Linked DNA regions of Homo sapiens: regions 2, 3 and 4 are each linked to region 1. Evidence: promoter capture Hi-C in 16 types of primary human blood cells and fetal thymus (Javierre and others, 2016). All regions are on one chromosome and are shown on one strand. Each heading gives the region's core, a stretch centred on a gene start or on the middle of the fragment in contact. The rest is flanking DNA. Distances are from core to core; before and after follow the strand shown.

Region 1 (3,023 bases), core at 139-2,638:
CAAAACGTGTCAAAAAAAAAAAAAAAAAAAAAAAAAGGTTGGCTCAAATTTTTCATGAACATTGAGTGCAGCAAAAAAAAAACATGCCTGTCCACCAAGCTGTCTGTGGGCCATGTTTGGTTTGAGAATCCTAGTTTATTCTCGGGTCCCTTAAGGCTCTCTTTGATGCTCATTCTGATGACATTACACTAAGATTTACTGATTGAGGGTACGGACACTTCTCCATACACACTTGCCCAGGAACGATCTCCAGTTACCTGTCCTGTCTCCAAGATCTTCTCTCTCTCATCCAATCTTGCCTATGCAGCATTCTATTTTCAGAGTCGTCTTTGCTAATTTGGGGAAGTCACTTATTCAAACAAGAAAGTGGTTGACAAATGTTTAGCAATGAAATCTCCCGCGAGTTACTACTTTTTAATTAGGATTTTCAACCCTAAGAAAGATATAGATAGGAGGAATAAGATAGGGGGAATAAGGAAACTAATTTTGAGGGGTTTCCCTGCCTCTTAGGTGGGGTTTATCATATTGTGCTGAAACTGCTTATTCGTCTAGTTCTCCAGACCCTGGGCCATTTATCTTACGTATCCCTATCTCTGAGCGTGTAGAAGGCGCTCCATAAAACTGTTGGTTTGTGTAAATGACCGAAAACTACATGCAGCGTGAGGGTGGATTTCCCTTTGACTTCGGCTTAAGGAAGAATCGTTCCCATGATCATCCCACAATTCATCTAAACGGAGATAGGCAAGGAGCAACTGCTCAAAGGCAAAGCGCTGGCAGCTGAGGCACAGCTCCGGTTCGGCAAACGTCTCCCGAGTGCCAAACGTCCCCCCAAACGCCTAACTGGTCGTCAGGGCGCAGAAAAGAAGCTTGGGGGGCGCGGTCTTCGCCCCAGCTCCACTTCGGTGCTTCACGATTCCTTCTCTGGCCTGCCTTCCTGATAAATACCCGGTGAGGTCACCTAAACGCTCTCCTCTCTCAGTTATTTGCTTCTTTCCAACGTTTGGCGCCCAGCTCCCGCCATCGGAGCGCCCCGCCCGAGACCACTGATCTCCTGGGGCCTCGCAGCCTTGCTTCCGAACGCCAAGGTCGCGGTGCGCCGGGGTAGCGAACGGCCAGGCCCGAAACCCCGCCCCGCAGCTAAACGCCCGGCCCGCTACCCTGCGCCCAGCTCCAGCCGCCGGGTCCCGCCTGGGCCTCTCCTCCTGGGAATACCGGGCACCGGTGGCCCCGCCCCTACCTGCGCGCCGCATCTCCGGGAACAACAGTCTCCCTCCCGAGCATCACAGCCAGACATGGCCCAGACCAGGGACCCGCGCGGCCTCCAATCTCCGCACGGCTTTGCGCGCGGCGCTTAGCCTGGGATACGGCAGCGAGGCCGCAAATGCAATCAGGCGGCGCTGAGGGCAGCCCGGGGGCGGGGCGAACGGGGCGGGGGCCGGGGTCTGGTAAGGCCCCGCCGGCTGAGATATCCAGCGGCGCACCTGACTTCCCGGGAGGCAAGGCCAACGTGGTTGGAGGCGGGGCTGGGTTGGGGGGCGGGGGTTCAAGTCTGAGAGACCTAAAGGCACCGCTAGCGTCTGGGGGCGTGGCCAACCATGCGGGAGGCGGGGCCTTGATGCTGGACATCAGGCTGTGCTGCGGGCAGCCAGTGAGAAGGCCGTCAAGATGGCGGCCTCCTGGAGGCTGGGCTGTGATCCGCGGCTGCTGCGTTATCTTGTGGGCTTCCCCGGCCGCCGAAGCGTAGGGCTGGTGAAGGGGGCTCTTGGGTGGTCTGTAAGCCGCGGAGCTAATTGGAGATGGTTTCACAGCACGCAGTGGCTTCGGGGTGAGTGGCCGGGGCTCGCTCAGCTTCTCTGTGTAGCTGAGTGATGGGCCTGGGACAGGGGCAGTTATGATTGAGGGCCTGCTTTTGGGTGTGAAGGTGCGCGGGCTCCTTATTCCCTTTCCTCTTTCTCCGGTTGGGGTCCGCCGACTTGGCCTAATGCATGCTGTGAAGGGCTTTCTTGGCAGCTGAGAGAACTCGACTCTGCCCTAGGCCCCCTGGTTTGTATGGCTTTGTGACCTTGCCTTGGAATTTGGGTTATTTGTGAGGCGCAGAGAGGGTTCCCAAACTCTCCTCCCTCAGCCCCCTTTCCAATCAAGGCTCAGGTTTCTTTAGGGTTGTCAAACGTCTCGGACGAGAAAAAGCTGCCCAAGGTTGCCGAGATTGAAAAGCCACTGTTGGGAGTTCTTACTTATTCTCTAGGCCTCTCTCTGTTAGGAGGTGTTTTCATTGAGGCCAGTCGAGTTTTACCCCACGCCATGACTCGTGGAAGACTTAAATTTGTAAATTCCTACGGCATCACGATAGACAAAGGTCCAGGAGAATGTTTCAAGCAAATATTCGCTTGAAAGAGCAAACATTTAGGAGATAAATCATACCAAAAATTTATTATAGAAAATTGTTGTTTAGTAATGATATTGATGCAGTTAACACAATTCTTGCAGTATTTAACAGTATGCAAAATGGCAGGCCGGGTATTATTTTTCCTTATTTTGGGAGAAGGTTGGAGGGAGGCGGGGATGGAGAATAGGACTGACGTTTTTTAGTGTGACGTATTACCTGCCAATCATCGTTCCTGGCACTCTACAGAATGAATTTTAATTTAAATAGGTCTAGTAGACGTTGCCTTCATATTCTGAGCTACCTTAGGCTCAGAAAAAAAAAATCACACAAAGTCATATGGTAAGATGAGTGTATTGGGGTTCCTAAAGGTTCCTTAATGGGAACAATTTATTTCATTTTTGGTGTAATGTTTCATAACATATTCCTTGGAGCAGAGGTGCTTTAACAGTGTGTGCAGAATTCCTTCTCTTCCCTCCTCCAAGTTTGTTGAAATTAAACTTTTTTCCAGCTCCTAGAGATTCGGTCTGGTCTGGTGTGGGGCTCAGGAATCTGCATTTTACAAATGTTGGATGAGTTTTGATGTTTTATTTTGACATTTAATGGAATGAGCTTTGAGACTCACTGCCTTAGAAAATCA
Region 2 (3,023 bases), core at 298-2,797, 810 kb before region 1:
AATATGATCAGCATTTTAGTCCTGAATATTTCTAGGCCCCAAACCTCTCAAAACTCATATTCAACATCTTGATATGAATTTCTCAATATTCCAAGTCAACTCCTTGATTACCCAACACCAGTTGTTCATTCATCCAGTTGCTCAGAGCAAATGTTTTGGGTGCCATCTTCAATGTACTTTTATAACCTGCATCTAATCCTTAAGTGAGTCCACGTGGTTCTAACTTGAATATCCAGAGTTATCTTATACTTCTAACTACTACCACAACTACCATCCTAGCACAGGTGACTACAATAGCTTATAATTGTTCTCCTTTTTCTACTTTTGCCTTCCTGTGATTTAGTTTTTGCATAACAGGAAGCCTTTTAAGAGGGCAAAGCAGATTTTCTCATTTCCCTGTCCCCCACAAACTCCAGTGGTTTCTCATCATGACTAGAATTAAATTCTAAATCTGGTCCTTCACTTGCCCACTGCTTTGGCCACACTGACTGCTTTGCCAGGACTCCCCCATCTTGGAGCTTTTGTATGTACATCTTTGGCACGGGGAAGTTTTTCACTCATATTCTCAGGGCTCATTCTTTCTAAATTTCAGGTCCTTGTTCCATCCAGTGTCACCCCGTCAGAGGCCTTCAGTGTTCGTTTCTAAAATAGTATCCTTAGTCACTTTACTCACTGGATACTTCTGCTTAATAGCATTTAAAACTTAACCTAGAATTAACCACGAGGGGCAGGAACATTTTGGACACTATCCCTTGTGAGCAGAATAGTGCGTGGGCATATTCACATTTTGCTGAATGAACTAAAAAATTTCATGATGGATGTTGGATTAAATGGGTAGTGCTGCTGATGACATTAAAAGTGTATCTGGGGAAGGGGTTTGGATTCAGACATTTGCGGTATCCAGGAGGAAACATCAAGCAGTTGATAATGTTTTTTGAAGTTCAGCGATCTGCCCCAAAGTCAAGAATGCAACACTATGTATAGGTTGTCCCTGTAGTCATGTTCTTGGAGTTCACTGGAAGCCCAGGGGGAGTAATTTCATTTGACGACCATATACAGGCCTAATGGGAGCCTGCAAAGTACAGCGGCCGCAGTCATGGGTAGATTACAGGATTCCCATCTGTAAGATCAGTACTGTGGGGGTGGAGGGCCAAGCGAAACCAATAAAATAGGTCTGTTGGCCGAGTTTCCTCAACTTAACGGGGATCGGTTAAATTGAACACAAATCGTTGGATCCGTCGCGTTTCGCGTAACCAGGCTGACGCTGAAAACCCTGGACCTACGTGGGCAGGCCCTGGGGTGCGGACATCTATTTTGCCCTTCTTAGCCGAGGTACTTTAGCTGGGATATGAAGAGTGAAGAGGCAAACCGCAGCCAACACCCAGCTACCGCGAGCAGTGGGACTAAAATGCGCAACCGCAGTGGACATCTAGGCCTCAGCTCCGCTTCTGGTGGCTTACGTCATTACTCAGCGACAGCCTTGAGGAAGGTCCCTTCTCGCTCGCCATCTCTGCGACTTTAATGCGCTTGCGCACGTGCTGTCTACCAGTTCCTGAGAGGGACGCGTGCCGCGGAGCCAGGCTTACTACGTGACCCGGACACCAGGCATACGCTAGGGGCAGTCAGCTGTGCCTTCTCTTTCGGAGTTGTTCCGTGCTCCCACGTGCTTCCCCTTCTCCACTGGCTGGGATCCCCCGGGCTCGGGGCGCAGGTACCCAACGCGGGAGGGCCGGGTATGGATGCCAAGATCGGTGTCTGTGTTCTTCCTGGGTCGAGAGGGGACCGGCCTCAGGATGAAGGCTCTGCATCCGGACGGATACCTGGCCTACGCCGTTTGTCCTCCACCCCTCTTTTGGGGCGCTCCAAGATAACAGAATCACCTCTCCAATACGCAGCCGCTCTCGGCGCGTGCTTCTCGAGCGTCCTCGGGGATTTGCGTGGCTCGATAACCACCTCTAAGTAGTGCCTGTAACTGGGGAGTCGGGGTGAATGGGTGGGTGACAACAGTTGTTTTCCGTGGAGCTTGCCCGCAGTGCCTGGCTGCAGGTCTGGGCATTATACTTAGGGTAATCTGATTCCAGATCCTTCCACGTTCTTAAATCCTTCACTGTGCACATTCCTTTATACTCTTTATTCAGCAGTCACATTCAGGACTTGGTTTTGTTTGCCAGTGCACCTAAAATGGTGCCTGCCACATAGATGTTATGTGTAGATAGACGAATGAGTGAGCGAAAAATAATCATCTCCTTCAAGGCCTTCCCCATCCAGGCCTTCCATGACAGCTTCAGCCCATAGTAATCTCAGCCCTTCCTTCATCTGACCGGTCCCTCAGTATAGCTATTTTTTTTTTTTTTACATCTAATTTTACCTGTGTTCTTGTTCCTCATCTCATTCTCTTAAATACCTTCTTCAAGAAGAATGCAAGCTTGAAGTCAAGGGCCTTGTGGTACTACTTCTGGGGCTCCCACAGTAGCTAGAGCAAAAGGCAGCCCCCATTAATTAGTTGTTGATTGATTTTTGCGGGATCTTTATGTGGCCGGCAACACAAGGTTTACAAGTTGGGAAGATTGGCGAACTGGGAAGAGCTCAGGCTTTGGAGTCAGGAAGACTTGAGTGTGAATTCTGTCTGTCGTTTTTCTGCCTCGGGATATTTGAATTCTTTATACTTTCTCCTTTACGTATAAATTGGGGTCCTTGACAGTGACTTAGTGTTTTATAGTAAGACATATGCTAAAATCTGTTTGGATTGGAAGGTTAGAAGGGACAGTTAAGGTATGGTAAGTTTCAGTAAATGAGCTTTATGTTTATAATGCAGTAGGTACCAGAGTTTCTAAGTAGCATGTCACTTTTACATCTAAGTAGCATGTTACTTTTACAGTGATATTTCTGATGGTTTTTTTGATGTATTTATTGGGATGATGCAGTATTTTACTGTAGGTAATCACAGAACTTTTTTTTTTTTTTTTTTGAGACGGAGTCTCACTCTGTCGCCTAGGCTGGAGTGCAATGGCACACCATCTCGG
Region 3 (3,023 bases), core at 365-2,864, 550 kb after region 1:
AACCATGGTTTCCATCTGCATTGTTTGCAAGAAAACATTAGTGAAAACTGGGCCAGTGCAGTGGCTCACCCCTGTAATCCCAGCACTTTGGGAGGCCGAGGCGGGTGGATCACGAGGTCAGGAGATCAAGACCATCCTGGCTAACACGGTGCAAACCCGTCTCTGTTAAAAATACAAAAAATTAGCCGGGTGTGGTGGCGGGCGCCTGTAGTCCCAGCTACTTGGGAGGCTGAGGCAGGAGAATGGCGTGAACCCAGGAGGCGGAGCTTGCAGTGAGCCGAGATCGCGCCACTGCACTCTAGCCTGGGCGACAGAGAGAGGCTCTATCTCAAAAAAAAAAAAAAAAAAAAAGGAAAACATTAGTGAAAATTAATTCAAAACATACACAAACTTTAGAGAATACTGCCAGACCAGGCTGTTAGATGACCACAGAGTACCTGTGCACTCTAGTTAGAAGTGACTGTAGTAGATATTGTTGGTGCTCTGCCCTCGGGTCTATTTTCTGTGTTTCTGTGGGCCCTTTTCCCCTCCCCATCCTATGGTATTTTACTTCCAATGGCCTGTACTTGTGATTCTCTTTCAGGGAACTGCTCAGGGGCTACTGGAACCACTTTGCCCACATGCATAGAAAGCCATATGTGCCCACGGTTTATGTCCTCCAGTTCCCCAGGGCAGCCCGCACCCAATGACTGATTGCTGTGGGCATATGAAAGCCCAGATCCCTTGCCTTAAAGCTAGAACATTACTCTAAGGAGTAATGTACATTCCAGATCTCATGACAGGTTAACACTGAGGTTGGTATTTTGCCTGAAATCGCACCCCTACTTGGCCTCCTTCCCTTCCCAGGCCAGCTTCCCACACCCCTATAAGCTTCCCCAGGGAGCCTGTCCTTAACACTTCACTTGTGTACACATTCTCAACTCACGATCTGCTTTGGGAAAACCTACCTAGGAGACTCTCTGTCCTCCTTTGCTCTCCCCCAAATTCTTGTCCTTATGCACATCACATTCCATGCTGATGGCTTCCATCTGTGACACCTGTTTTCGGTCTGGTAACCAAGGCCTTATATAAGACATGTGTTAAAACATGACCATATAGTTTGTCATCCAATTCAAGACACTTTGCTCACGAAAGAGGATGCTATTAATAATTTTGCTCAGCAAAATGTATATCTACCACCCTCATTGCAGGGCTTCAAGTTATGCAATAAGTCACATTGGAGCCTGTGAATGGTGCCAGAGTATAAATCTAAAATACAGATCTTAGAATGGACAGGGATACAGACTGAGCCACAGGAAAGTTTGTTGACCTTTTTCAGTGTTTTTGAGCTCTGAATATTACTAGAGGCCATTGTATCTTTCTAAGAGGTATTTGCAGCAAGTGAGGGTTGGAAATGTCAATAGACAAACCTAGGAAGTTGAAGAGAACCTGACTCAGAAGCAGCTATGCCCCTCTGAGAATCACTCACTGGGAGTATCCACACTGTGCACCATCTTGGACAGAGCATCCTAGACATGAAGAAAGAGTTGGCCCTGCAAGCTCTTAAAATCCTTCCATACCAGCCCCATCTGACACCTTAACTCCCACTTAGGAAGCATACTCACGATTTTCACAGCGCTGCCCAGTATAGCCTGCCAAGCAGGCACACTTGTAAGATCCAGCCTTGTCAAGGACGCACGTGCCGTCATGGAAACAAGGGGATGAGGAGCATGCTGTAAGAGAAAAGGCATCCTTCAGTGCCACTATACATTGAGTCGATGTCTTCAGGCCCAGAGTCTTGACCAAAGTCTTTTAATTCCTTATTAAAGTCTTCTTGCAATGTTTTTTCTTCCCTTTACTGAATTCATGTTATGATTATTTGAAAATGCCTAAAATAGATACTCATTAAATATCAAATGTTGGTGATATTATTTGATGTTTTTGAGGGCCCCAGAAGTATGCTTAACGCTCCTATAGTCTGAAGACCACAAGGCAATGCAAACAAGAACATTAAATTGATGAAAGCAGAGCCATGCTTGTATCTCTCCCATAGGGGTTTCAGCGGACAGAGACATCCTTGGGTAGCTGAAGACCATCTTTTTTCAAATAAAAGCTCACCATCCTGGGTACTGGGGCAATGCAACTGGAAGACAATCATTATGACACTGTTGAAGGTATATTCAATAATTTCCAAACTTACATTCTGTAATCATTAGTCCCTTGAGATGTTGATGTGTTTTACTAAGGGTTCTGAGCTCAAATATGTTAGGGAAATGTTGCTGACATTCAATGCTAATTAACCAGATTTCTTTACTGCAGAACTTCTCAGTTCAATGCCCCAATATACATTGTGAGTTTCCTAATATACATTGTGAATTTCAAGCTTATTTGACCTCAAAGCCTGCATTTTACAAGGCATCCTGGGGACTATTTTTCTACAGAAAAGATTTTGAGAAACATTCATCTGTGTGTTATCCATCAATCCTACATTCATTTATCCCAATGTAGAAGTATATTCCTTGGCTCAGTTCAACAAACCTGTCTTGAGTACTTGCTCAAAACATGACAAGGGAGAAATACAAGGAAGAACAGGATGTCCTATTTACCAGATTAAAACTACTTGAAGAAAAATATAAAACGACTATGACTTGAAGCATAATATAGTTAGTGTATTACGAAGAAAGAAGAGGCAATGCTACAAGACATTCAAAAAAGGGCAAAGCCATAGCTTGTTGGAGCAAGAGAAAAGATTTAGGAGAGGAGGAAGAATGTAGTAGGGGCTATGAAGGATGGATTTTGATGTGCAGGTTGCAGACAGGTGACTTTAGCCAGAGGAAATATCTTGAAGGCAAGTGAACAAACAGGGATGTTTGAAAAATGGGAAGTGGTATTATTTGACGGCATTGATAAAACACAGGCCAGTATTGCCAAAGTTCTCCAGGGGAGGTTGAGGAGGTCATTTCAGAGGAGCAAGACATTCTCCTGACCGTCCCTCAGTCCCAGATTCACAGACTGGCCAGCCACTGCTGCCCCTACCTGGCTTG
Region 4 (3,023 bases), core at 212-2,711, 520 kb after region 1:
AGAAAATAAAACGTGCTCTATTCTTTTCTGTGTCTACTTACAGTGAAAGGCACATTGTGGGGGCTTAACAATAGATGGACAGGTAGGTGGATAGATGGAGAGATGGATGGATGGATGGATGGATGGATGGATGGATGGATGGATAGACGGATGGATGGATCGATGGCTGGATGGATGGATAGATGGAGGGATGGAGGGATGGATGGATGGATGGATGGATGAGGGGATGGATAGATGGAGGGATGGATGAAAAGATAGATGGATAGACAGATGGGTGGGGGAATAAAAGACAGGGAGGGAGTCAGGGAAAGACAGACATATATTGTAAATTTGTTAAGAGTATATCTAGGGTAAAACATCTCTGTCTACCTAGGACAGTGCCCAAATGTAATAGGTGATTAACCTTTTTTTATTCAAAAAGTATTTATTGATAATCTACTTTGAGCCAGGCACTGTGCCACACTGTGAGGGTACAATGACAAATCACAACATTCATGGAGCTAACGGTTTCAGGCAGAGCCAGCCATTAAACAAATAATTTCACTAATTTTTAATTTGTTAATTTATGACATATCCTACCAGGTAACATGTGCTACTAGGAGAAGTACATTTTACTCTTAGGTGATTAACTTTTGATGACCACAGTGATAGATGCCTTTGCCTCTATCTTATTTAAAAAATAATCAAGGTGGAAAAAAGACTCCACAGCCTTTCTAGGTACCCCCATCTAGTATCTCAATATGAAATAATGAACGCTGCTATATGCGAGGCTCTGGGCTGGCTGCTGACATGCTAAGGGGACAGAGCTTGGTATAATCACTGCTCTCCCGTGCTTGGAGTTTTTTTGAGCCAGAGCCCCAGCTTCCAAGTGCAAGCCCTCTCTTACCTGTAGGCTCTGGATGGTCTTCTCATCCCGGTCATCATCCCGGTAGAATTTCCCCAAAACAACTTTCAGGTCTGCTGTCTTGATCATGGTGACCTTCCCCAGGTCAGTAACACAGTGGGCAGCCACCACCACAGTGCGCTCATTCACCAGGGCACCGCTGCAGACTAGGAACCACGCTCCCTTGTGTAGGCTGCCGTCATGCACCCCGCTGGTCCTCCTGTAGATGGCTGCCTGCCACGGCCAGCGCAACCCTTGGGTCTTTGGAGCAGTGATGTTCTCAATTTTCCCGCAGACTATGGAGAAAGTACCAGCTTAGTAAGATAAACTCAGACTTTGCCATCCAAAGGAGAATGTGTCACTTAACCAGAGAGCACAAATCTGGAAAGGTGAACTGTATGGGCATGATGACCACTAAGATAAGTAACCCAGTTTTCTTCTGCATTTAAATATTAATCAACCCACCCTGACATGGCTGGCTATAAAGTCTAGGATTTGCAGTCAAATGAAACCTGAGTTCTGATCCCAGGCACTTACTATCAATAGAACTTTGGGCAAGTTGTCTAATCTTTTAGAGCCTCTGTCTTCTTGCCTGTAAAATGGATAGAACAATAATAATGGTCTCACAGAGCTCTTGAGGAGATTAAATGAGATGGTACATGCAAACAAACTCAAAATATCATGACTATCCTCATAGTCATGACCACAATGAACTAAATCATATTGTTCTCCTTTCGCAAAGAGGATGGGGAAGGCAGCTTAGTAAATGCAGGCCCCTAATCCGGACACTTTGACATATTATCTCAGTACTCATCATCATAACCTTATGATGTAATTAATACCTCATTACATTTTTTATTTTTATTTTTTTATATTTTCAGTAGAGATGGGGTTTCACCATGTTGGCCAGGCTGGTCTCGAGCTCCTGACCTCAAATGACCCACCCACCTTGGGCTCCCAAAATGCTGAGATTACAGGCATGAGCCACCGGTGCCCAATCTAATACCTCATTGCTTAATAACAAGTACCTAATTAGTATCACTGGGTGATGAGTGTAAAAATTGGGGCTTAAACAGGGTAGCCAAGATTATATAACTTGAGGCCCTCTGGCACCTTTAACCCCTTTCCCCACTTGGTGACTTAATGACCATTTTTTCCAAGTAAATATGATAGAATCACCCAAGAACGCATGCCTCTAAGATTTAGTGAGTCAATTTCTCCTGGGTAGTAAGGTTAAGCCAAAGGAAAAAAAAAGCTCTAACTATGGAATTTCAGATATCACCAAACTAGAGAAAGCACTGGAGATGCTCTCCCAAAAAGTAGGGTTAATGGTTTTTCTCAGGCAGTCATGAAAGATTGAGCATGCTCAAGCCCAAGAATGAGCCTTGACTCACTAGGGATGCAGGATGGTGCCCGCCCACTCCACTTCCCAGTCCTCAGACATGTCCTCCTGCTGCTGCCCAGGCGGCGGTAGAAGGGTGAGATGCACTCATACTGGAGCTGGGTATGCAGATGTTGGTATCCCATGGGCAGATCTCCAAAGGGAAGGGCTGGCTTCTTGGTAGGGGCACTCTGCAGTTTCTGCTTGCTGAAGGCCGCTGAGTATAGCTGGTGTAATGGTGTCTCCCTGGGTCAGGAAACATGGGCCCAGAGAAAGAGCAGGGTGAGAGAAAGTCACTGTGGCCTCTTTAGCATTCATGCCATGTCCCATGTAGATATTTGTTTACAGAAACAGAAAAAATCTCTGTCTCTGTCTCTCTCTATCTCTCTCTCTGTCTGTCTGCCTTTTGAGGCAGGGTCTCCCTCTGTCCCTCACTCCAGGATGGAGTGTAGTGATGCGATCTTGGCTCACTGCAACCTCCACCTCCTGGGTTCAAGCAATTCTTGTGCCTCAGCCTCCTGAATAGCTGGGATTACAGACATGCAACACCACGCCCAGCTAATTTTTGTATTTGTAGTAGAGATGGGTTTTCATCATGTTGTCCAGGCAGATCTTGAACTCCTGGGCTCAAGCAATCCACTCACCTTGGCCTCCCAAAGTGCTGGGATTACAGGTGTGAGCTACGCCACCCAGCCAAAAATGGCTATCTCATTCTGTGTCTCTCTGTTTCTCTCTTTCTGTCTCTCTGTTTCTCTCTCT

The links. Contacts are between HindIII fragments. The CHiCAGO score rates a contact against its expected background, and 5 or more counts as called.
Region 2: a contact is called between the fragment with the promoter of NAT10 here and the fragment with the promoter of APIP in region 1, in 6 of 17 cell types (neutrophils, non-activated CD4 T cells, naive CD4 T cells and 3 more). The highest score is 9.7, in neutrophils.
Region 3: a fragment that was not itself captured here is called in contact with the fragment with the promoter of APIP in region 1 in 6 of 17 cell types (M0 macrophages, total CD4 T cells, naive CD4 T cells and 3 more); the score reaches 6.4 in M0 macrophages.
Region 4: a fragment that was not itself captured here is called in contact with the fragment with the promoter of APIP in region 1 in 4 of 17 cell types (total CD4 T cells, naive CD4 T cells, naive B cells and 1 more); the score reaches 6.0 in total CD4 T cells.

What each region holds. Positions count from the first base shown.
Region 1 is chr11:34,914,991-34,918,013 of GRCh38, forward strand. It overlaps APIP (APAF1 interacting protein), which reads right to left and starts at 1,389. Exons shown (of 7, transcript NM_015957.4): 1 at 1,238-1,389. The coding sequence starts at 1,294. It overlaps PDHX (pyruvate dehydrogenase complex component X), which reads left to right and starts at 1,628. Exons shown (of 11, transcript NM_003477.3): 1 at 1,628-1,825. The coding sequence starts at 1,666. RefSeq lists silencers at 1,050-1,389, 1,410-1,459 and an enhancer at 1,630-1,929. The HindIII fragment of the contact is 9,412 bases long and covers 865-3,023 here.
Region 2 is chr11:34,104,082-34,107,104 of GRCh38, forward strand. It overlaps NAT10 (N-acetyltransferase 10), which reads left to right and starts at 1,548. Exons shown (of 29, transcript NM_024662.3): 1 at 1,548-1,711. RefSeq lists an enhancer at 1,301-1,760. The HindIII fragment of the contact is 3,708 bases long and covers 1-2,423 here.
Region 3 is chr11:35,466,397-35,469,419 of GRCh38, forward strand. PAMR1 (peptidase domain containing associated with muscle regeneration 1) reads right to left here. Exons shown (of 11, transcript NM_001001991.3): 6 at 1,605-1,712. Among named protein-coding and RNA genes, the nearest start is that of SLC1A2, 48 kb to the left of the region's middle. The HindIII fragment of the contact is 1,492 bases long and covers 869-2,360 here.
Region 4 is chr11:35,433,626-35,436,648 of GRCh38, forward strand. It overlaps PAMR1 (peptidase domain containing associated with muscle regeneration 1), which reads right to left. Exons shown (of 11, transcript NM_001001991.3): 9 at 2,278-2,510; 10 at 887-1,179. Among named protein-coding and RNA genes, the nearest start is that of SLC1A2, 16 kb to the left of the region's middle. The HindIII fragment of the contact is 9,496 bases long and covers 1-3,023 here.